7 separate regions of the Homo sapiens genome follow, and all the other regions are linked to region 4. Evidence: promoter capture Hi-C in 16 types of primary human blood cells and fetal thymus (Javierre and others, 2016). All regions are on one chromosome and are shown on one strand. The core of a region is centred on a gene start or on the middle of the fragment in contact, and the rest is flanking DNA. Distances in the headings are between cores, read along the strand shown. Region 1 overlaps TMTC1 (transmembrane O-mannosyltransferase targeting cadherins 1). Region 2 overlaps TMTC1 (transmembrane O-mannosyltransferase targeting cadherins 1). Region 3 overlaps OVCH1 (ovochymase 1). Region 4 holds the start of TSPAN11 (tetraspanin 11). Region 5 overlaps TMTC1 (transmembrane O-mannosyltransferase targeting cadherins 1). Region 6 overlaps OVCH1 (ovochymase 1). Region 7 overlaps TMTC1 (transmembrane O-mannosyltransferase targeting cadherins 1).

What was found. Contacts are between HindIII fragments. The CHiCAGO score rates a contact against its expected background, and 5 or more counts as called.
Region 1: a fragment that was not itself captured here is called in contact with the fragment with the promoter of TSPAN11 in region 4 in 8 of 17 cell types (naive B cells, total B cells, total CD4 T cells and 5 more); the score reaches 11.0 in naive B cells.
Region 2: a contact is called between a fragment that was not itself captured here and the fragment with the promoter of TSPAN11 in region 4, in 5 of 17 cell types (naive B cells, activated CD4 T cells, M1 macrophages and 2 more). The highest score is 7.1, in naive B cells.
Region 3: a contact is called between a fragment that was not itself captured here and the fragment with the promoter of TSPAN11 in region 4, in 1 of 17 cell types (total B cells). The highest score is 5.8, in total B cells.
Region 5: a contact is called between a fragment that was not itself captured here and the fragment with the promoter of TSPAN11 in region 4, in 6 of 17 cell types (naive B cells, naive CD8 T cells, non-activated CD4 T cells and 3 more). The highest score is 6.5, in naive B cells.
Region 6: a contact is called between a fragment that was not itself captured here and the fragment with the promoter of TSPAN11 in region 4, in 1 of 17 cell types (total B cells). The highest score is 5.8, in total B cells.
Region 7: a fragment that was not itself captured here is called in contact with the fragment with the promoter of TSPAN11 in region 4 in 3 of 17 cell types (naive CD8 T cells, non-activated CD4 T cells and erythroblasts); the score reaches 6.5 in naive CD8 T cells.

What each region holds. Positions count from the first base shown.
Region 1 is chr12:29,545,181-29,548,327 of GRCh38, reverse strand. All of the region lies in intron 10 of TMTC1 (transmembrane O-mannosyltransferase targeting cadherins 1), which reads left to right. All of the region lies in intron 5 of LOC105369714 (a long non-coding RNA gene), which reads right to left. Among named protein-coding and RNA genes, the nearest start is that of OVCH1, 49 kb to the right of the region's middle. The HindIII fragment of the contact is 1,374 bases long and covers 1,106-2,479 here.
Region 2 is chr12:29,499,695-29,502,787 of GRCh38, reverse strand. TMTC1 (transmembrane O-mannosyltransferase targeting cadherins 1) reads left to right here. Exons shown (of 18, transcript NM_001193451.2): 18 at 1-1,948. Among named protein-coding and RNA genes, the nearest start is that of OVCH1, 3.6 kb to the right of the region's middle. The HindIII fragment of the contact is 1,829 bases long and covers 721-2,549 here.
Region 3 is chr12:29,480,773-29,483,790 of GRCh38, reverse strand. The region is part of intron 9 of OVCH1 (ovochymase 1); the gene reads left to right. All of the region lies in intron 1 of OVCH1-AS1 (OVCH1 antisense RNA 1), which reads right to left. Among named protein-coding and RNA genes, the nearest start is that of OVCH1, 15 kb to the left of the region's middle. The HindIII fragment of the contact is 1,684 bases long and covers 458-2,141 here.
Region 4 is chr12:30,925,017-30,928,275 of GRCh38, reverse strand. It overlaps TSPAN11 (tetraspanin 11), which reads right to left and starts at 1,528. Exons shown (of 8, transcript NM_001370302.1): 1 at 1,480-1,528. It overlaps LOC124902911 (a long non-coding RNA gene), which reads left to right and starts at 1,587. Exons shown (of 2, transcript XR_007063264.1): 1 at 1,587-3,259. The HindIII fragment of the contact is 3,619 bases long and covers 1-3,259 here.
Region 5 is chr12:29,524,482-29,527,643 of GRCh38, reverse strand. The region is part of intron 11 of TMTC1 (transmembrane O-mannosyltransferase targeting cadherins 1); the gene reads left to right. The region is part of intron 2 of LOC105369714 (a long non-coding RNA gene); the gene reads right to left. Among named protein-coding and RNA genes, the nearest start is that of OVCH1, 28 kb to the right of the region's middle. The HindIII fragment of the contact is 266 bases long and covers 1,387-1,652 here.
Region 6 is chr12:29,463,403-29,466,629 of GRCh38, reverse strand. OVCH1 (ovochymase 1) reads left to right here. Exons shown (of 26, transcript NM_001353179.2): 17 at 1,411-1,483; 18 at 1,928-2,123. All of the region lies in intron 1 of OVCH1-AS1 (OVCH1 antisense RNA 1), which reads right to left. Among named protein-coding and RNA genes, the nearest start is that of OVCH1, 33 kb to the left of the region's middle. The HindIII fragment of the contact is 876 bases long and covers 839-1,714 here.
Region 7 is chr12:29,564,123-29,567,291 of GRCh38, reverse strand. All of the region lies in intron 9 of TMTC1 (transmembrane O-mannosyltransferase targeting cadherins 1), which reads left to right. Among named protein-coding and RNA genes, the nearest start is that of OVCH1, 68 kb to the right of the region's middle. The HindIII fragment of the contact is 6,262 bases long and covers 1-3,169 here.

The DNA.
Region 1 (3,147 bases), core at 543-3,042, 1.4 Mb after region 4:
CATTTTTCACTCCATCAGCAATGGGGAAAGATTCATTTGCTCCATATCCTTTTGAACATTTGGTGCTGTGTTTTAGCCATTAGTGGTCATTAATGTAGAATCCACATGTGTTCCTGATTCTATTTCTCTCCTCTTCTATTACCACAGGCTCTCTCTTAGGTCTTCAAATTCTCTCCAGTCCACAACTTCAGCATGCCCCAGATCCCCCTAGGGAATCTTTCTCAGTTGAGGCGCTCCCTCCAGTTGTTGTCTTCACTCTTTGCTTTTGATCAAATTGGCAAGAAGAATGGTTAGCGCCTGGTGCTTCTCCTTTGCACCTGTTCACACAGCTGTCTAGTGCATTCACTGCTCTGCCAGCTTTTACTCCCTTAGTTTCTCTGCAGTGAAGAATATGACACTGTTGATCTCCTTCTGATTTTGAAGCTCTTTATTTCATTGCTTCTATCACAGTGCATTATTTTGCTCTTCCAAATCCAACATCTGCTCTTCTTCGACCCTTCCTATAAATTTAGGGACAGCTAAGAAATTCACTTCATATCCATTGCGTACACACATAGAGTCCAAATGTCTTAGCATTCAGGGCTTTCCATAATCCTGCCACTTTCCTCCTTATTCTTCACTCCTCTCCCATATTGTGTAAACCCAGACCCCAGCCAGATTGGCCATTTGTCAATGTATGAGAAATACTAACCTGCCAGGTTACATTTTAGAGACTGTGACTGAGGTTTTAAATAGAGAACTTTCCTAGTTCATTTAAAATGTGGTTTCATTTACATTTTTATCATTTCATGGTCAGTGGCTGTCCAAAATTAAGTTACTGGGAAATAACGAGAATGTCTATGTACTTACTCAAGATTTGGCAGTTGTTTGTATGTAAACAGATTGCTAATGATTAAACTATTTTTGTGAGTCCCTCTCCCCTACTGCAACTCCACTCATTTATACTGTGATTACTAATGAGTTGAGGTTGCGTTGTTTTAAATCCATCATGTGCTTTGCAAGGAATCTTCTCTCAATCTTTCCTTTTCCTTTTGTAATGACTGCAGTAAACACCGCGGAGACCTGAAGACAGAGCTGCCCAGGAAGTGCTGGGTGGGAGCAAGCTTTGAGGAATCCCCTGGTTTTTGTTTACATTCTCTTGAAGGAGTTGGAATGTCATCATTTTCCTTCATTGCATAAATATTTCTAACAGAGGATAATTAAACAGGCCAGACTGCTTTGTCAAGTGCAAGAGTTTCAGTAGTCTCCCTTGTCCTGAAAATCATTTTCCCACCCCATTCACCCTTTACAATCTTTCCCGGAATCCTTTGTTATCTTGTCCCCTTGAGCTCCTGTGCTGCCTGAAAGACTTGGGATGACTCAAGATATAGGTGAAAAAGGAATAATTTTTGGAATAACTCAAGGTGAAAGAGGAATTTTTTTTTTAAGAGAAAAGGACTCACTATGTTGCCCAGGCTGGAGTTCAGTGGCTATTCACAGGTGCGATCATAGCACACAACAGCTTCAAACTTCCAAACTCCTGGGCTGAAGCGATCCTCCTGCCTCAGCCTCCCGAGTAGCTGGGACTAGTCTGATTCAATTAAAAGAATAAGAGAAATGTGGATAATCATTGAAAATTTCTTTCTGCATACATTTGTCTTACTTTAGGGTACCAAGTGCCTGAACATTTTTTCTAAAGCCCAGTAGGAGATCAACTTTACCCAGACAATTAAATTTGGCATATAGGCTGTTAGACATAATCAAAAGGCTTTTAAATCTAAAAATGCTCTGTGTAGGCCAGGAAGAGAAATAGGAAGGACAGAAAGAGGAATATGCATGTTCCACCCCTGTCTGTGGCCTGCAGGGTCTGTCCCAGGAAGCATGAAATAAGGCCCCTTCCCTTCTTGGTGACTCCTTAGCAATTCTGCCAACCTCCCTCCCATTTGTACCCTCCTGATATAGGGCCCAGTTCCCTTAGTTTGGTGTTTTCATGCCTTGCCTCTTGTCTGCCGGCCAGCATAGCAGGGCTCTCTTCCCTCAGCTTTCTGGCCACCCTCCTCCTGCAAGTGACAGGGACAACAGTAACTGGCACTTAAATGGCACTCTGCTCAGCACTTCTCATGTCTCATGAGCCTGCCCACACCAGTTGTCTAGGACAAGCCCATCACTCTCCCATTACAGACTGAGAATCACGTGAGGAGAGAGCCCAGGGCCAGGAAACTGATGCCAGTGCTTTCTGCCACATCATGCTGCCTCACTACCACCTCCTGTGTGTTCTCCTCAAGACTAGCAGCTGGGAGAGCTTAGTGAGTTTGAGTCTCAGTTCTACTGCAAAATTACATGTGACCTTGGGAAAAGGATTTTACCTTGCAGTGCCTCCAACTGCTCGTGTATAAAGTGCAAATAATACTAGTAACTACATCTTTCATGAGTACTAAATACAATAATGCGTGTAAGTCCTCAACATAGGCCCTATTACCCAATGAAGATGAAATAAGCTTTAACTATTATTAATTATCATCAGCCCAGGGACATAATTTCTCACTTTCAATTTGAAACTCAGGTCCTTGGTATAAAATATGCAATGAATCAGAAGTAGATAATGCATTTTCTACCCCTGCAGTTGAACAGCTCGGGGAAATTTAAACTTTGCTGAGGCTTAGTTTCTATCCGTGTGTGTGTGTGTGTGTGTGTGTGTGTGTGTGTGTGTGTGTGTGTGACAGAGTCTTGCTCTGTTGCCCAGACTGGAGTGCAGTGGGCTGATCTCAGCTCACTGCAACCTCCAGGTTTTAGTGATTCTCCTGCCTCAGCCTCCTGAGTAGCTGGGACTACAGGCATGAGCCACTATGCTTGGCTAATTTTTGTATTTTTAATAGAGACAGGGTTTCACCATGTTAGCCAGGCTGGTCTCGAACTCCTGACCTCAAATGATCCGTCTTCCTCAGCCTCCCAAAATGCTGGGATTATAGGCGTGAGCCATTGTGCCCGGCCTCCATCTCTTTAAAACAAAGGGTGAGAACAAGTGATCTCATAGAATTATCCAGCTGCAAGAATCTGTGGTTTTAACTACAACTACAGGTTTCTGGTCTTTTAACTGAGAAGTAAAAGAAAAAGAAGACCAGAGAAGAACTTGAAAGTCCCTTTTCTCTCCAGAGGAAGTACTTGCAT
Region 2 (3,093 bases), core at 386-2,885, 1.4 Mb after region 4:
TACAGGGCTGACACCTGGAATGGGAGCTTGTAACTTTTACAAAATAATAGATGTTTATCATCTTTTGCAATTTTTACTTTTAAGTCTATACTAAAATGAGCCAAAGAAGTCTTAACAATGATGTATGGCACAATTGGTTGGTTGAGGCTATCATTCCATGATTACAAATAGGTGGTTATGTGGGGTGGTTTTGCACTTGTGGCAATTGGACTGCAATTTGGCCTTAAAATGACACAATTCCTCGTTCTCAGATGGAGAGGAATTGCCTTGAAATTTGCATGTACCAGACTAAGTGCCAGTATATATATGACTGATATTTTCGTGACTCATAGAAGGTGTCCATGGTATAGAGTTTATGCCTACATCTCTATCTTTATTTTGGGCACACATGAGCTTTTGTTAATTATTTCTTTGTACTTGTTAGAATCTGTTTTTGAAAAAAAAAAAAACTTTTGCTTTGATTTGTGGTGGATTCACCTTCTTAAAATAATAAATTTAGAGGATATTAGGAATGACATTCAAAACAAATATAGTGAGAGGTGATTTTTTAAAAATTTTTGTTCCTGGTTTCCAAATTATGTTTACTTTGATTTGATTATATGTTGGTATCTCCCAAATATAGGTTAACTTAGCTATTTAAATGGTATCTTTTGACATTTAAAAAGAATTAAGTACCTGTCAAATCTAGCATTGAGGTTGCAGTTGAATAAGATAAAAGCTTAGGATGTCAAAAAATAATATAGAGAAATATTATAAGATTTTATGATTATTCTTGACGTTTTTGATGCAAAAGGAAAATATGCTGAATAGTTCTTCCAAAAAATATTATTTCCCTCAATATTTTATTTGTAGCCATGTAATTTAAAGAGAACAGAAAATAACTGCAATCAAAAGTATGGTTTAATATCAATCAAAGTGGCACAACAGAATTGATAAGATCTTTATAACAATCAATTGGCTGATATTAAAATATTGATTTTAATTGATCTTTTCAATTAAAATCTTTAGGGCCTGTAACTCATAAAATCAGCATCCACCACAATATATGGTCATTATTGGTTTGTAAGCATAGATCACCATTGACTCCTACCTGGAGAGACATGTCTATTTCTAAAAATCCAGTAGTTTCTTTGCATTCTCAGTAGTACACGTTGTATATATATATATGTAACAAATTTGGTAGTTTTCAGTATGTGTGATGTCCTTTGGGGGTTATTTATCTTGCTGGTCCATAGGAGGGGTACACTACCCCAAGAATCAAGACATCTGAGTTCTAGTTCTAGTTCTAGCTCTGCCACTGAAGAGCCACCTTACCTGGGGCAAGTTAGCCATTGTCTCCCAGTCATGTTTACCACCCATGAAAGGACTCGTCGGTTTGATGTTTCCATTAAGCTCAATGAGTAACTCTAATAGTTACTCTTGAATCTGGATTGAAAAACACCATGCATCTGATGAGATAATTCATAAATGTTGCCCCTTTTTTAAATGATACAACCCTAAAAGTGACTGAATTGCCCAAGTGCTTGAACATGGCAGAGGTAGTTACTCCTATTTTGCAGTTTGTGCACTTAAAAATTCCTACAGTGATTGTTACTTTACTGGGGAAAAAAGATGAGGTGAAACTTCCTCCCAAGGAATTAAAATATCTGTAGAAGCCATGGCTTGCTTTTATAATGTGGAAATCATTTGATTTGCTGTAATTCACGCAGATCCCTCCTTTTGTCAGGGGGAAATGATTTGCATCATGTTCTTTTTTCATAATGCTTTTACTTCCTGTTTGGATCAGTTGTATGTAAATGTACATTTTTGTTACTTTGGCTGTGCCCGTTAGAATTTATCTTCCATAAAGTATTTCTCCCATTGAGTCTAATGATGTATACTTTGCCTAGGTCTTTCCAAAATTAAATTTATGTAAATGTCTATTTTATATAAAATATGATTAAAATAAGTATGTCTGGTTTCAATCTCTCAAGTACTTCATGGTTAGTACCTACTGATGTCCATGTCACCAGGAGTGTCTGTTTTAACAATGTTTTAAAAAGGACCATCTTCCTTCCTTCATTCTTTCATTTACTCATTTCATTGCATTATTCTGTGTGCTTCCTGTCTGCTCTCTTTCCCTTCCTCCGCACAGTGCCAATTCAGTACTCACCCACTCCAGATCCGCTCCCCTATCATGCTTAGATGCTGTCACCTCTCTCTTCACAGAGTAAATAAAAGGTAGAAAGCAGCTGTCCCCCAATGCCCTGCACTTCATCTATACATTTACCTGCACCTAATTCTATCCTTTCTTTTCTCCTGTTATCGTAATGGAAGAAGAGGACCCTAGGTTCTGCATTTTGCCTCTTATGGAACTTCATTCCATGCCTTAACTTCTCCTTCATCTTTTTACTTCTTCCTTTTGCTGGCTCTTGTCAATTTGTCAGTTCTACTCTTCTTAAAGCACATACACAGGCAATCAACACCGAAACAATTTGAAAAAAAAAATCCTCTGTTTCATTTTATCTGTAGCTGCTATCACATCTCCGTCTGCCCTTCACAGCCAAGCTTTTCGAATAGCAGATCACAGTTGTCCTATACTAGTGAAGATGTCCAAATTAAAGACAGATTTGCTGTACATCACAAGTCACCACTGTCTGGGGGTAGTCCAGTCCACTCCTCTCCTTGGTATCCTTTCCTTTTCTGAAGTTATTTTAAACATAAAAAGAGGATTCTTCCATTTGGATGTTTTAATATAACTACAAACTCAATTTATATTGAAACCATTACTTTTTTAGAAAATTTGAGTCTAAAACTAAAACTAATGGCCTGGCTTTTTTTGTTTGTTTGTTTGTTTTTGAGATGGAGTCTCACTCTGTCACCCAGGCTGGAGTGCAGTGGTACGATATTGGCTCACTGCAACCTCCGCCTTCTAGTTCAAGCGATTCTCATGCCTCAGCCTCCCGAGTAGCTGGGATTACAGGCATGTGCCACCACACCCGGCTATTTTTTTTATTTCTAGTAGAGATGGGGTTTCACCATGTTGGCCGCCAGGCTGGTCTCGAACTCTTGACCTCAGGTGATCCGCCTGCCTCACCCTCCCAAAGTGCTGGG
Region 3 (3,018 bases), core at 50-2,549, 1.4 Mb after region 4:
GGTCTTTGGTAGCTCTAATACTGAAGATTTCAACAGATGGAGAGGCAGGAAGAGGTCATTCTATGCCAAGGGAATTAGATATAAGCAATGTCAAGGAGGTGGGGAAGATTGGGGTTTTTTGGGTTTTGAGTATCCCACTGTGACTGGACAACAATGTGAATGGGAACTGGGGTAGCAGTGGATGATGAGAATAGAAAGGATGATCGGGACTTAATTGCAGAGGACCTTGAGTTCCATGCAGAGAGATTAGACCTTATGCTACAACCAATGGGTATGCTAAAACTAAAATGATGGAAAGATTATAACTTTCAAAACTAATGTAAAATGAATATAAATATTTATTTCAAGTACAGATAGAAAAGATGTGGCTTAATTTCAGCTCATAATTTAAAACGCTTAATGGTCTAAACTGACTTTGTCTCAGGCAAACTTGTGATGATAGAATGCCAATAAAGCTTTTGCCACCTTTGCTTAAGCTGTTAGAAGGATATTTAGAACAAGAGTTTAAGAAACTCCTTTATTAGAGTCTCAGGGACCTCTAGGACCTCTAGGGTACAATGTTTAGACAGGGAGATTGATAAGCCAGAATTTGTCTGAAGGAAAATGACCAAGATGGGAAAAATTCAGAACAATGTTTTGAGAGGTATGGTTATAGGAACCATAATATTTTTTGATCCAAAGAAGACTGAAGAGGAGGAGGGAAGTGTCTTGATTTATCTTAGAGGCTACTAAAGAAACAGAGTTAGACTTGTTCTGAATAATTGCAGAGCTGAAAACTAAGACCACTGGGTAGAAGTTAGAAGGCAGAGTTCAATTCAATATTAAGTCATTTCTTGTTTGAATGATTTCTGAAATTAACTAGCCTGCTTCAGGAAGTAATCAATGCTCTTGATAAGTGGATATTTGAGCAAAGTATTTGTATATTGGGTAAGAGACATGCAGATGGCAGCCTACTTACCCTCAAACACAGTGACCCAACTTAGACAGTTAAGCATTTCAGAGATCTCTGCAAGAAAAAGTTTCAAGAGAAGAAGGGTTATTTTAGAAGTAAAAATCAGATCAAATGCCATCGCATATAGAAACTCAAACTTCTTGAACTGAGCAGAACTGTAGGATCAGAAGCCACATTCATAGTGGGTTAAGTGACTGTTGAAAATTTAGTATCCCAAATAATCAACAAATTTCTATTGAACCCTCAGGATGTGTAAGACACTGTCTTAGGTGCTAGAGATACAGCAGTGAATGAAACACACAAAAATGTTTGCCTTTGTGGGGCAAGTTAGAAGGTGGAAATGGGATAATTTTTAAAGATTACATATAATAGTAGAAGGTAGTAAATGCTATATCAAAAAATAAGGCAAGAAAGGGGGGTGGAGAATGAAAGTATACAATATCAGAGAGGGTGGTTAGGGAAGACCACGTTATAAAGATGATACTTGAAAAAAAGGACTTGGATAAAGCAAGGGAGGGAATTATATGATCATTTTGGAAAGGAACATTAAGGCAGAAGGAATGGTATGTGTGAGACAAGAATACACTTGGTATATTTGGGGAATAGCAAATTGACCAGAGAGCCAGAGTTGAGTGGCTGGAGAGGGGCAATGTGGCCAAATTCTTTAGGACTTGCGGGGCATGAAAAGAACTTTGGATTTTACCGTAAAGGAGCTAGAGAGCCATTGGAGGATTTTGAATGAGGAAGATCATGATCTGACACATTTTTAAAAGATCACTTTTATTACTGGGTTGCAGATAGACTGTAGGCAGGCAAGACCACAAGCTGGGAGACCAACTACTGCAATAGTCCAGGTAAAAGATGATGCAGTCATCCAGGTAAAAGTCTAGCTTTGACCACATTTGTAGAGGTGGTGAAGAGTGGTAGGGCCGTAGGATTTGCTGATGAGTTGACAGTTTGGGTTTTGAGGGAGAATGAGATCCCCATATGAGTAACCTAACAGTTTTTAACCTGAGCTATTGGAAGAATAGAACTGTTGTCTGAGATGGAAACATTGGGGTGGTGGCTTTTAGACAGTAGGGTCAAGAGAGGCACTTTGTTTTGATAAAGTAGACTCAACTGTGCTTATGGACAGAGAGAGAGTGAGAGTCAACAGTCATAGGAAACACATAGAAATGTGAAGTAAGCTTTCTGAGAACACAACAAATAAAGAAGGTTTGGCATTGAAAAGAGGGCAGAATAATTCCTTTTCTGGGAAAGCAACAAAGAAGGTAATCTGTAGGAAAGTTGAAGGAATTTACACTGGATGTCTTAGTTATCACATGAGATTTTAATTGCTTCAACTTTAGTAGATGAAGTAGAGATAAAATAGTTAAGATATAAATAGTTTATAGGGACTAAAGTAAGGAGTCAACCAGAGATTAATAAGACTTTCAGTAGCAGTAAAACCCAATGAGTATTAGCATCTATTTGTACTATATTTCAATAAATCAAGACAAAAAAATTCATTGTAAAATACTGCTTCAATAGGAGAAAACAAAATTCCTAAGATAGGTTCATATAAGGCTGAGTCACCAAACACTGTCTTTAGCGTAAGGCTAAACAAAGTGTAAACCCACCCACATGGAAAGTTACATGCCTCAACCTTGGCAGTAGATGTAGGGAGAGGTAAAAAATTATTTGAGAATTTGAACTACAGGTTAATACTCGTGCAGATCTACCATCTAAATTCACACCTCAAGTATAGGCCAAAACATGTCAAGCAGAAAATTCGGCACTGTGAAGTTGACAGTGAGCAACATGACTGACAGAAGTGTATACAGATTCTGCCAGGAAGAACTCTTTCAATTCAGGTCTACAGAAATCGTAAGATTCCTTTGTAAGATGCATTCTAATTTTAGAATGTGCAAATGTGAAAAAATTGTGCTTTAGAAACGAGTATAGGGCCAATTTGCACAGTCAGTGACTTCTTCAGCATGCTGAGTAGCCTTAGATAGTGAAAGGGTTTTGTGAATTCCAACTGGAGCTAACTAGGAAATCATAAGGGAGACAGAGATAATATAAAG
Region 4 (3,259 bases), core at 279-2,778:
GGTTATAAATGTCCTGGGCTCATCTGAAGAAAGGCTCTCTGGAAAGTCAAGGTGCTCTAGGCAGACTTAAAGACATCAACGCCAGTTTTCCTCTTGTTCTGCAGCACTCACACAAGAACTATGGGGAATCACACAGGCCTGTACATATTTTACACACGAGTCCAAAGGTGGGTATAAAATTCCTGCTATGCTGAATATAGTGGGAAACAGCACACAAATGCCTCCCTCTGCTACCCACAAACCAAACAGCTCTGGGCCACCTAAGCCCTCGCCAGACCACCAACTTGGCCCCTGTAGGCCAGTAGTGCCCCTTACCCTAGGAGTCTTAACTATCATCAAAGCATTTCCAGGCATTAATTGGAGCCTCCAGTCCCTTGGGAGACAGATGGGGCCAGTGGTTATTAGTCCCATTTTGCACAAAAAGCAACTGAGCCCCAGATGACCTATCTGTCCAGGGAACAATGCTACTGACACAGTGACAACCATTAAGTTCTGATTCAAACCTGTCTCCAGCCTCTAACTGCTGCTTTCCACTGCAATCCAGCTGCCCACAAATTGAACACAGACTATCCACTTTGGCCTAATACCACCCTCATTCTCTTCTTCACGCTCCCCCACACACACCCTATGCCCCAGAGTGCACTTATGAGTTTTTCCAGAAGCTGCCTCTTCTCCTCACCCCCCACCCCCACGCTCACCTCACAATACTTGCCACGAACTGGAGACCTCTGGAACACTTATTCCTCCTGCACACAGCAGCTTAGACTCAAGTTAAGATGCTGTCCCGCCAAGCCCAACTGGGCTGCCTCCCTTTCATACTTTCCACCAATTCACACATGTGCACACTGCACATATGGCTGGTGAAAAGGATACACCCCAGAACCTTCCATGCCTTCTTTCCACACGGAGCCGGCCAACTGCACATGCAGGGATGGGCACGAAAACACAGGTGACAGGGCCTACACAGCCATGTTGTCACAAATACACAGACGTGCCCAGAACATGAGGACATCCCTGCACAGGCAGACAGGCCCTCTGAAAGCAATGTGCACCAGATACAGCATTTTGGTGTAGCCATGAGAGGCAGCTACTCGAATTCAGGGTGGACAAAGAATGACATTTTCAAGAGGAACAGACATGCCCCGGGCACGCTGGACGGCACGAGGCCCTCAGAGGCCCAGAGCTCTCTCCCAAGGCACAAGTGCAGAAAGGCAGACTCATGCGCATAGTTATGGACACCGTGTTGCGTGTCCCATGCAGACACCAATACCTGCTCACATGCCCCGCGAGTGTCCCAGGCATTCCTGCCTCCTCCACTCCTCATCCCCAGCCGGCTTCCCTCTGCCCGCCCGGGGGAAGCTCGGGACAGTCTAGCTCGGGACTGCCGGCGGGGCGGGCAGCGGAGGTGGAGGCGCCTCTCCTGGACCCCCAGCCCCCTCCCGCGGCGCCCCCACTCCTCGGGCGCGCTTCTGCACTTACCCTGCCAGGGGCTCCGGAAGCGGCGAAGGGAGCTGCGCCTAGAGAGACTGAGAGCGGCGGCTCCCGGGGCCGCCCAGCCGCCCACCGCCCGCAGCCAGCGCTCCTCCCTCCCAGCCCGGGAAGGTCAGCGTGTGGGCAGCCCGGCCCGCGCCCCTGCGCCCACTGAGGCTTCCTGCCGGCCCTCTAGTCCCCGCCTGCCCAGCGCTCGGCCGCGACGCCCCGGCGCCGGCTCTCCCAGCCCAGCCGGCAGGACGCGCCCGGGAGCCCCGCACGCGAGCTGCCGGCTCTTTGTTTGGGGGTTTGCCTCTCTGCGATTCAGAGCACGCGGAGGGAATTAAGTCAGAGTCCGAGGCAGCTGTGCGGTTGCCGGGGGGATCCCTAAGGGGGGCGGGGCAAAAGGACGGACTAGTAGGGCGGTGGAGCGGCTTTCAAACTCCCCGCGCTCCGCAGCTCCCCGCTTAGGTCTCCCTGCCCTTTACGTTTGTCGGCCCCTGGGAGAGGTTGGCCTTTGGGGGTTTCCAGGGACCCTAGGGACAAGCCTGTCTGATAAGAGAGAGGTTCTCCATCCCCCTTCCTCACCAGCCCCCATCACTGCCGTGTCCCTCTTAGAGTCCTGTGGAGCATCAGCTTTACATTTCCTGGGCCCCGGGGAGAATCAAGGTCTCTCTAATCTGAAGCAAAAAGGAATAACAGAGAGTAGAGCCCATCTGTTCCTGCTGAGTCCCTGTGAAGGTGCAAAGCTGGCCCTAACGGGACTGGCCCTAACAGTGGGGCATGGATTATCTATTTCCCAAAGTAACAAGGGCCTTGTGCTTATCCAACCGTGTTCTTTTGAAACTTAGCTGCAGTGAGGAAGATTACCCATTTACCAGGTTGCTAGATCAGGGAAGCCACTGGAGGCAGGGGACGCTGACAAAGCCACTGTACCGGGAGCACCAACGTTCTAAATACCCCAGCTGGCTGCTGAGAAGGGCTTCGCGGGGGGCCACACAGGAAGGAGATGATTCCAATAGTCCCGTGAGATGAGGACCTTAACTGGGGGATGAATGCGGAAGCTGCAGCAAAGGAGAGTCTACAGACTGTGTGGTGTAGGAGGAGCACACTGGGGCTGTAACATTGTGGAAGTCTGGAGGAGAACCTGGAGTGATGTGACTGAGTTTAGTGTGGAGCAAGTTGGATTGGAGAAGCAGGCCACCTTCTTCCAGGGGCAGATATCCAGCAAATGCAATTGGAAGGGTGATTCTGGAGTTCATAGGAGAGACTGAGGCAAGGGATGTCAATTTTGGAATCATCTGGAAAGAAGTTGGGCCGACACAAGAGGTGGAGGGAGAGGGTAGAAAAGGTACAGAGAACAGGGCTGAAGACAGAATCTAGGTCTACCGAGAAGGAGCCCATGAAAGGAACGGAAACTATCAGGAGAAACCATAAGGGAAGGTCAGGACTGTGCGGGGTGTCAGGACTCAGGAGAAGAGGGAGGTTCAATGGGGGCCGGGGCCCGGGCTGCAGGGACACCACGGAGGAGGGCGCCCAAGAAAATAGGTTTAGATTTAGAAAGAAGGAGATCTCTGGGCTAGTTCAAGATAACTATTTGAGTGGTGGCTTATATAAACCAGGTTGCCACTCCTTGGGGCGGGGCATCTGTATCTCGGATCCAATTGGTTGATGGGGAGATACAAAGGTTCACCTCTTTGCTTCCATTACGGAGGGCCCTGAAGGGCCACCCCAGCTCCATAGCTTCCCAAGGGATCCGCCGAGGCCTCTGTGGAAAGCAGCACAGTTA
Region 5 (3,162 bases), core at 270-2,769, 1.4 Mb after region 4:
TTTCAGGAAAAACACCTTCTAACTTAACTAGCTTGGTTATAAAGATGTTTTTCAGATCTCACGTAGCCACAGATAGTTTTCAAGCACATCTGTGTTACACAGCCACTGAAGTAAATAGTGACCAATGCCCTTGGGCATTTGGATCATGACAGGTGTACAGTATCTATCCCCAGGTGTGGATGCCACTCTTGGCTGCCCCCCACATACCTTGTGCTTCTCCTCCCACAGCTACATTATTGCCTCCTTCTTGTCTGAATTCCACTCAGTGGTGAAGGTAGGGATTGTGTCTCTCACTCACTGTTCTGTTTCACTGTATACATGCATGGCACATGCATGGTGTTAAGTTTAACTTGACACAGCTTCTGTCTCATGTTGTCTTTCTCAGATCTTTTGATTGAAAAACAGAGCCTCTTCTCCCTCAAGGAATAAATGCTTTTTAAAACCTTTTAATTACCATTTTGGCTAAATGAATTACTATTATTCTACAGTGACCTGTGATCATATTTTAATTAAATGTTTTAAACCTTTGACATATTTGACAGGCTTCTTTCCTTAAATCAAATTTCAAGTTGGAAATGAAGTCTTTTTGACCTCAACTAACTTGAGACACTCTGCAGAGGCCTTCTGCAGCATCCAAAAGAGAGTTTATAGACTTATTTGACATGTTAAACTATGAGAAGCATTGTCAAATAAGTAATGTTTAGCCTTGAGTTATGTTTTTATGAATACATTATTAATATATGTTCCAAAATTATGAGATTCCTAAAATTCTGATATGTCTTGGTATGTTATCCATCATAATTATGGTTATTATATTAAATTATTATAGGCCACAGGAGAAAAAAAACAACTTTTTTGTCAATTACATCTTTAACCATGACCATAGTTAACTTTTCCATAGTTAATTGCTTAATTATGATACATTTTCTAAAAGCTCTTGATAAAGAAGTAAAATCCTAGAATGGCGTATCTTCAAGGAGGTTCACAGAAAGGATGAAAAGAACCCTGACAAGCACTCTTGAAAACAGGTTTCTGATAACTTAAAGATCACATTATTTGGATTAAGAATTCCCAAAACTCTAATGAAGAGACTGACTGGGTTATAAAACTTCTAACCCAAGCAAGACAAGAATTAATTGAATACCAAGAAAACACTTTGCCAGATTTTCATGCTAAATCAGCTCTCACTAAAATGTTTTAAGTATACAATTTAAATAAACTTCTATGGTCCAATTCAAATTACCTATGATGGCCCACCTAATAAACAGTGCTATACATCTGAATTGAAAAACAAAATTGGTTTTTGAGAGGATCTAAATTCAGTATTAAGCATATACTCATGGAGAGCCTAAATGGCCACCTGGTCCTTCCAAAGTCCTTCAAGCTTTCATTGTTAAAAGTTCTGTATGCCATCACTCATCATAGGAGGGATAAACTGATCCAGGTTACATTTTTAAAGTATTTATTGGTATGGTGACTATTCTAAATTGCTAAAATGGTTGACTAATATTTGGGTGGTCAAACTCATAATCCTGGGAAGACAATCAAAACTTCAGGTACATTTCTGCTACCTGATGGGCCATTTAAACATTTATAGAGAAATTTCATTCAACTGTCATTTTTAATGCGTATTTTCTGGTTATATGAAAGCTTTCTCATACAAAAATCTGATGGCTGTAATAGTAGCTAAAACATTATTAGAAAGTGTGTTTCCCTCATGGGACATTCCTAGAAAAATCTCTAGCAATAAAAGGCACTTGATTCACTGGACAAGTTGTAAAACAAATAAGGTATTTCAGATACAATAGCATTAGGCAAAGGTAACTGATTCAACTAGATTGTCTTATTCAAAAGTATTACAGTGGATACAGTGGATAATCAGATCCACTTCCAGGGGAAAACGTAAGTTGGCCTTTCTAAAATAGTCGGTAGAGGGCCCATATCCCTAATAACAAAACCTCATTTACTTTCTGGTCTGAAACTCTGATATGACTAAATGCTACAAGGCTTTAATACATCATGCCAAAGTATACTTTCGCTAGATTTAAAAAAAAAAAAAGGCTTTTCATGATCAGTGACTGTGGACAATCAAACCCTTCATGGTCTAAAACCCAGAGACTGGATATTCTGAAAATGATATCAGAAAAAGACTGCCCTTTGCTGAGCACAGTGGCTCACACCTGCAATCCCAGTATTTTGGGAAGCCAAGGCGGGTGGATCACCTGAGGTCAGGAGTTCGAGACCAGCCTGGCCAACATGGTGAAACCCTGTCTCTACTAAAAATACAAAAATTAGCCACTGGGTGTGGTGATGGGTGCCTGTAATCCCAGCTAATTGGGAGGCTGAGGCAGGAGAATCGCCTGAACCCAGGAGACGGAGGTTGCGGTGAGCTGAGATCCTGCCATTGCACTCCAGCCTGGGTGACAGAGCAAAACTCCATCTCAAAAAAAAAAAAAAAAAAAAAAAAAAAAAAAAAAAAAAAAAAGACTGCCCTTGCCACCCACACTACAGCAAAACTTTGGGACCTCAAAGCTTAGGTTCATAATCTCACAACTGAAAAGGGCCCTCCAGACTCTTTGACCTATACACCCATTTGAAACCTTAAGATAAAGCTAATCAGGAAAGTTTCTCCCCAAAACAAATGGCATCCTAGACATGGACAGCTTTCCCAAGATCACAGATCAAGACTTTTCTGCTATCATCAGACTCTTACCTCTCTTAATTTTTTCCTTGCTTATGCCTCTATAAACAATAAAACTAAAAAGGGAGATTTGTGTACATCATGAGGTATAACTTTATTTGTAGAGGACTTTGCAGCCAGCATTATACATTGACAGTCTTATGCCTGGGTAGAAAAGATTCAGGACCAATGTGAGCAAAAACATTTAATGGCATCTTTATTCTTCCATAATCAGTCAGAACCAGAACATTGGTTCATTCCTTTTAACCTACATCATAGGTTTAAAACAACACTGCCAGGGGCCTTCACTCTTCTAGTGAAGTTTAAACATGGAGTTTCTTTACACTCTTCTAGACATAATTCTTAGGCCCCTTTTCCCATAATTTAAAGGAGATAATGATTACAATTCATCCCTCATAATAGGCTCCATAACAGATTGTACTACAAAGACTGATTACACAAAAGTCATCTTTAAATTCTCT
Region 6 (3,227 bases), core at 27-2,526, 1.5 Mb after region 4:
AGCAGCCGCCCTTGTGCCTCTTCCAGTCATCACTCCCCTAAAAGTAATCAGCATTCTGATTTCTAACGCAATAGTTGAGTTTTGCCAATTTTTAAACTGATAAATTCCTTTGAACTTTAGTTTCATAACTCTGATTTAACAAAAGATGACGATCTGAGATATGACCCAGTGAGATCATAATTCGGCAATGTTGAACAGTAAAATATAGACCAGAAGCTACCTTGTCACAGATATAATTTTTTAAACATATTCTTTTTTTCTTGCAAAGATTTTTATTATTTATTAAACAAATTTAAGATATTGATAAATACAGTACTGAGATAAATACAGTATTAAGAGAAACGTATTTTCTCTTCCTTATGATTTTTTTGTATATATTTTTTATTATACTTTAAGTTCTAGGGTACATGTGCACAACGTGCAGGTTTGTTACATATGCATACATGTGCCATGTTGGTGTGCTGCACCCATTAACTTATCATTTACATTAGGTATATCTCCTAATGCTATCCCTCCCCCCTCCCCCCACCCCACAACAGTCCCCGGTGTGTGATCTTCCCCTTCCTGTGTCTAGGTGTTCTCATTATTCAATTCCCACCTACGAGTGAGAACATGCGGTGTCTGGTTTTTTGCCCTTGCGATAGTTTGCTGAGAATGTTGGTTTCCAGCTTCATCCGTGTCCCTACAAAGGACATGAACTCATCCTTTTTTATGGCTGTGTAGTATTCCATGGTGTATGTGTGCCACATTTTCTTAATCCAGTCTATCATTGATGGATGTTTGGGTTGGTTCCAAGTCTTTTTTAAACATATTCTTAACATCACTGTGAAATTAAGCTTTAATTATTTTCATTTTTCCTCCTCGACCTAAAAAAAGCCTTTGGTGATATTTGGCAAGGTTTCCAATGATACTTTATGGTCAAAAGAAAGGGGCAGGATACATGATCAAGAGCTCCTTTTCACATAGATCAGAAGGCATGATGTGGCTTCCCTGGGAGGGAGATCGCAGAGGCAATGGGACAGGGGACTGTTGCCTCGCTGAACTGAGCAGTGCATGTTAGTAGAGCCAGATGATGGTAGGGTGGTTTCCCTCCCTACCTGTTCACCTGATAGTGAGTTCTTGCAAGATCTGATGGTTCAAAAGTGTGTGGCTTCCTTTGCTCTCTCTCTTCTGCTTTGCTGTGATAAGATGTGCTTGCTTCCCCTTTGCCTTCAGCCATGATTGTAAGTTTCCTGAGGCCTCCCCAGCCATGCAGAATTGTAAGTCAATTAAACCTCTTCTTCATAAACCTCTTTTCCTCAGAACGTCTTCAGAAAGACTTTATAGTCTCAGAGTCCTTTATAGCAGTGTGAGAACAAACTAATACAAATGTGTTTTCATGTCAAACTTTCACTGTTCTTCTGTCTCCAGGAAGAATAATCCACTCTCCTGGACTATTATTGCTGGGGACCATGACAGAAACCTGAAGGAATCAACAGAGCAGGTGAAAAAATGTTTTTACAGGTCATTCTGCCTGTAATCTAAATGTTGTCACATGCCAAGGAATACCTTTAGCTAAAATATGTAATTAGTTATTAATCTCCTAGGGCCCTTTCACACTTATTATTTATACCCACATTTAAAAATGCAATTTGAGATTACATTTTCACTTGAGAATTGCAGGAAGTAGGTCAGAATTGCAAATTTAGGCCCATGGACACAGGTTTTCAAAGCTTTATTTCTCCAGCACCACCTTTATCCAGAAGGTGGTTCATAGCCCCCTGCAAATTGTAAACCAATATTGCTCTTTTAAATTTAATAGAAAGTCTTCTGCATTGTTTATGTATGTAAGTGCAGAAATTTAGGATTATTTTGGACCATCAACAAGGAAGTTGCTGGATTCTTTGACTTTCTTACGTTGTAATTTGCTTACTTGCCACCGATACAGGTGAGAAGGGCCAAACACATAATAGTGCATGAAGACTTTAACACACTAAGTTATGACTCTGACATTGCCCTAATACAACTAAGCTCTCCTCTGGAGTACAACTCGGTGGTGAGGCCAGTATGTCTCCCACACAGCGCAGAGCCTCTATTTTCCTCGGAGATCTGTGCTGTGACCGGATGGGGAAGCATCAGTGCAGGTAAGCATATTTTTGTTGCATAAACATTAATGCCAGTTGTTATTTTTGAAAATAGGTCATGTAAATGATATCAAGCAGCATCCGCTTCAGCCCCTCTTCTTTCTAAAAGATAGAAACCATGTTTTATTTAGCTGTAACAGATCAGCAAGTAAATAGAGAATGAGCTATTTAAAACTTTTCCTTCAGGGTAACTTAGATTATAAGTAGGCTAGATGAGCAGTCAACAAACCTTTACTGTAATGGGCCAGATAATAATCCTTTTAGGCTTTGCAGGTCATCTGGTCTCTATCACAACTATTTAAGTCTACTGTTATAGCATAAAGCAGCCATTGGCATTATGTAACAGAATGGGTTCCAACAGAACTTAATTTATAAAATTTAAATTTCATTTAATGTGCACGTGTCATGAAATATCATTCTTTGGATTTTCTTCAACCACCTAAAAATGTACAAACCATTCTTATTTAATGGCTTGTGCCCGTGTTTGGGGGTGGCACAGAATTTATCCACTGGCTGTCATGTGCTCACCCCTGGCTATGGTATAGAACTCTTAAAGGCTTAGTAAAACAGTGAAAGATCTGAATGGGTTGATATTTGTTTTGTGCTTCTTATACCATACAAGATCATTTTCTTTGTATATTTCCTTTCTATATGTCATTTATTTGGAATCTGTGAGCTTGAAGGAGGAGGGAATTTATATTTGACTGCTTACAGTGTTGATATTGACAGCTTACTGTGCTACCTGAAGCCAAATTGCACTTTCGTAAAAATCTTCACACCCAACACATGAGGAGCTTTTATCATCCCCATTTTACAAATGGAGAGGTTGTAACCCAAAGATTTAAGTAACTTGCTGAGATCCCATAACTAATAAATATCAAATTGAGGATTTAAGATCAGTGTGGCTCAGCTTATAATCTTAATGGCTTCTCATTACACATACAATCAAATCTGAACTTCTTAGCCTAGCTTGGAAAGCTCTGTGTGATTGGGCCTCCCCACTTAACCTCTTCCACATAATTTCCCTCTATTTTTCTTGTGGTTAACCTTCAGATACCGTGGCCTTTCTTCTTTCTCTTAAACACCAAGCTTGCTCTGCTTTCT
Region 7 (3,169 bases), core at 202-2,701, 1.4 Mb after region 4:
ACTTTTTCATTTTAAAAACTCTCTTATGCATGGTTCCCCAGAAAACAGAATCCAAGGCAAAGATTTGCAAGCAGGAAGTTTATTAAGGAGCACCCTCGGGAACACCAGGGCAGCAGAAGAAAGGAGATGTTGAGTAGAATGCAGTTCCAGCTGAGGCCTCAGCTGATCCCATGGGGAGCTCTGGAACTGGGATGTCCCCTTAGAGGTGTCATGAATGGAGGCAAGAGATTTACTTTTAAACCCCGCTTTCAACCAATCGCTGCATCCAGGACGGGAGTCTAGCCTTGGGGAGGCAACTCCCTGAGGCTGAGAGCAATTCCCAGAGAGGAGGTGGACTCTGAGCTGCCAGCAGCCAACACTCCTAGCAGCCGGGAGAATATGCACTTCAGCCTTGAAGGGGAACTTTACACCAGCTGTGATTTCTTGTATAAGTAAATATGGCAGGTTTAGCAAAATAGGGTTGAGATTTTCTGTTAAAAATGAGAATAGGGATGCTGCCTACCTCATAGGGTTGGAGGATTACAAGATAATTCATATAAAAGACTTAAAGCAATATCCGTAAGCAATGAGGGCAATGACACGCTCAGTAAATATGACTAACACACACAGAATCTGACCACCTCCCTCCACGTCCACTGTCCCCTCCACCTCTCAGCTAGACCGCAGCAATATGCTCCTAACTGGTGTTGTGGTTTTCACCTTTGCCCTGCTTTCCTTCAGTCTGTTCTCAATACAGCAGCCCCAGGGATCTTCAGTGGGGTGGCCCAGCACTTGTGGAGGTCGAGATGGGTGGATTACATGAGGTCAGGAGTTCAAGACCAGCCCCGCTGGAGCCCCACTCACAGCAATCTGGAGCTCAGAAGGCTCCAGCCACCCCACCTCACTTACGGGGAAAGTGGGCGGCCCTGCAGCAGCCTCCATGCTCGCCCTGCACCACCTGCCCCCTTACTCCCCCTGACACACCTCCTGCTATTCTTCTTGCTTACTTGGCTCCAGACACACTGGGCTGCAGGCACGTGCATGCCAGCCACATCACCTTCCTGTTTCAGGGGTTCTGCGTTCTGTTCTTTCCTCCTAGAACCCTTCCCCCCTTACCTCAATGGCTGCCTCCCTCACACCCTTCAGCACTCCTCATATGTGTCATCGGCTTCTCCATGAGGCCTCCCTGGGCCACCCCACTGAAGACCACAAGCACCACCAGCATCCCCTGTTCCCCCTCTTTGCTTCATTTTTCTCCATTTATCACCCTCCGCTCTACTCACCTATCGTTTTGTTAATTGTGTGTCCCTCCTCTACCCAGTAAACTGCATGAAAGCAGAAATCTTTGTCCTTATCCCCAGCATGAAGGAGAGTGCCAGGAACATGGCACTGAGTAAATATTTGTTGAATGGAACAATGCTACATGTAAACTTCTTTATACTGTGGTTTTTTGTGTTTGTTTTTTGAGACGGAGTCTCACTCCTGTTGCCCAAGCTGGAGTGCGGTGGTGCGATCTCCACTCACTGTGGCCTCTGCCTTCTGGGTACAAGAGATTCTCTTGCCTCAGCCTCCCAAGTAACTGGGATTACAGGCACCTGCCACCACACCTGGCTAATTTTGGAATTTTTAGTAGAGGCGGGGTTTCACCATGTTGGCCAGGCTGGTCTTGAACTCCTGACCTCATGTGATCCACCCATCTTGACCTCCCAAAGTGCTGGGGTTACAGGCGTGAGCCACTCCACCTGGCCTTATACTGTGTTTTTAAAGTATGTGAATTACCTGGAATGTTTTAAAAGGTAACTGAGGTATAATGTAAAACCTAAATGTCGTCAATAGCAGAAGATCCTAAATTACGTCTATCTTTTCCTCTTCCTGAGTGCTAGATTGGCAAGGGGTAGACTTGCGATGGATAATTTCATGTCAGCTTGGATGGGCCATGATACCTAGATATTTGGTAAAACATTATTCTAGATGTTCCTACAAAGGTGCCTCTTGGATGAGATTAACATTTAAATCAGTAGACTTTGAGTAAAGCAGATTATCCTCCAGAATGTGGGTAGGCCTCATCCATCCCGTTGAAGGACTTAACAGAAAAAGACAGACTTCCCTGGAAGGAGAGAAAATCCTACCCACAGACTGCCTTCTGGATTCTAACTGCAGCTCCTCCCTGGGTCCCCAGCCTGCCGCCTACCCTGCAGATTTTGGACTTGCCAGCCCCCACAATCATGAGAGCCAGTTCCTTAGGATAAATGTCTCCCTAAATGTAAATATACACATCCTGTTGCTTCTGTTTCTCTGGAGAACCCTGATTAATTCAGATTTTCCTCTTTTACTACCCTGCTCATTTTTCACGCCTAAGGCTGATCTCTTCTTTTCTGCTCAAGGTTCCATAATTTCCAGTTTCTCAGAGCTTATTTATAATCCTCTGTTTAAATCCTTTGCTTCCTCCCCTTCACCTGGCACTTTCCCATTAATATTTAAATATTCTCTAGTTGCTCCTACCATCAAACAAACAAACAAACAACCGAGCCTGTCTGTATCTCTTGTTTTCCTCCTCCTGCCATTCATCTGTGTGCTTCCTTATCTCCTTCCTACCTTTTAAGTGTCAAAATTTCCCAGAAAGTTGCAATGTCTTCCTTATTTTCTCTCATTACTCAACTACATTCTGGCATCAGCTCCCTCCCCACATGTGAAACTGCTCTCCCCAAGTCACCAGCTACCTCCATGCAGATAATTCCAATGGACCATGCTTGGGCATCAAATTACCTAACTCTCAGCAGCATTTGACTTTGTTGACCACTTCCTCCTCCTTAAAGTAATTCTTTTTTAGCATCTGTGACACCATGCTCTCTTGCTTTTTCTGCTCCTTCTTTAGATTGTCCTGCCTCCACCAACCCTTAATGGAAGAGTTCTCAGGACCCTCTCCTCCTTCCCTACATCTTGTTCTCTTCTCAATCTTTGCTTTTTAAGGGGTTCCTTCAGTCCCAAAGGCTTGTTAGCATCTGTGTATATGCTGGTTGACCCTCAAATCTATGACTCTACCATTATCTTTCCCCTGATGATCAGAGCCATCTACCCAGCTGGACATTTTCACAAATTGCCCTCTGCACCTCAAACTTGACTGGTCATCTTCTCCCCAAAACTTGCTCCTTGTCCTTTATTTTCCTCCTTTCCATTCTCTGCTTCAGCC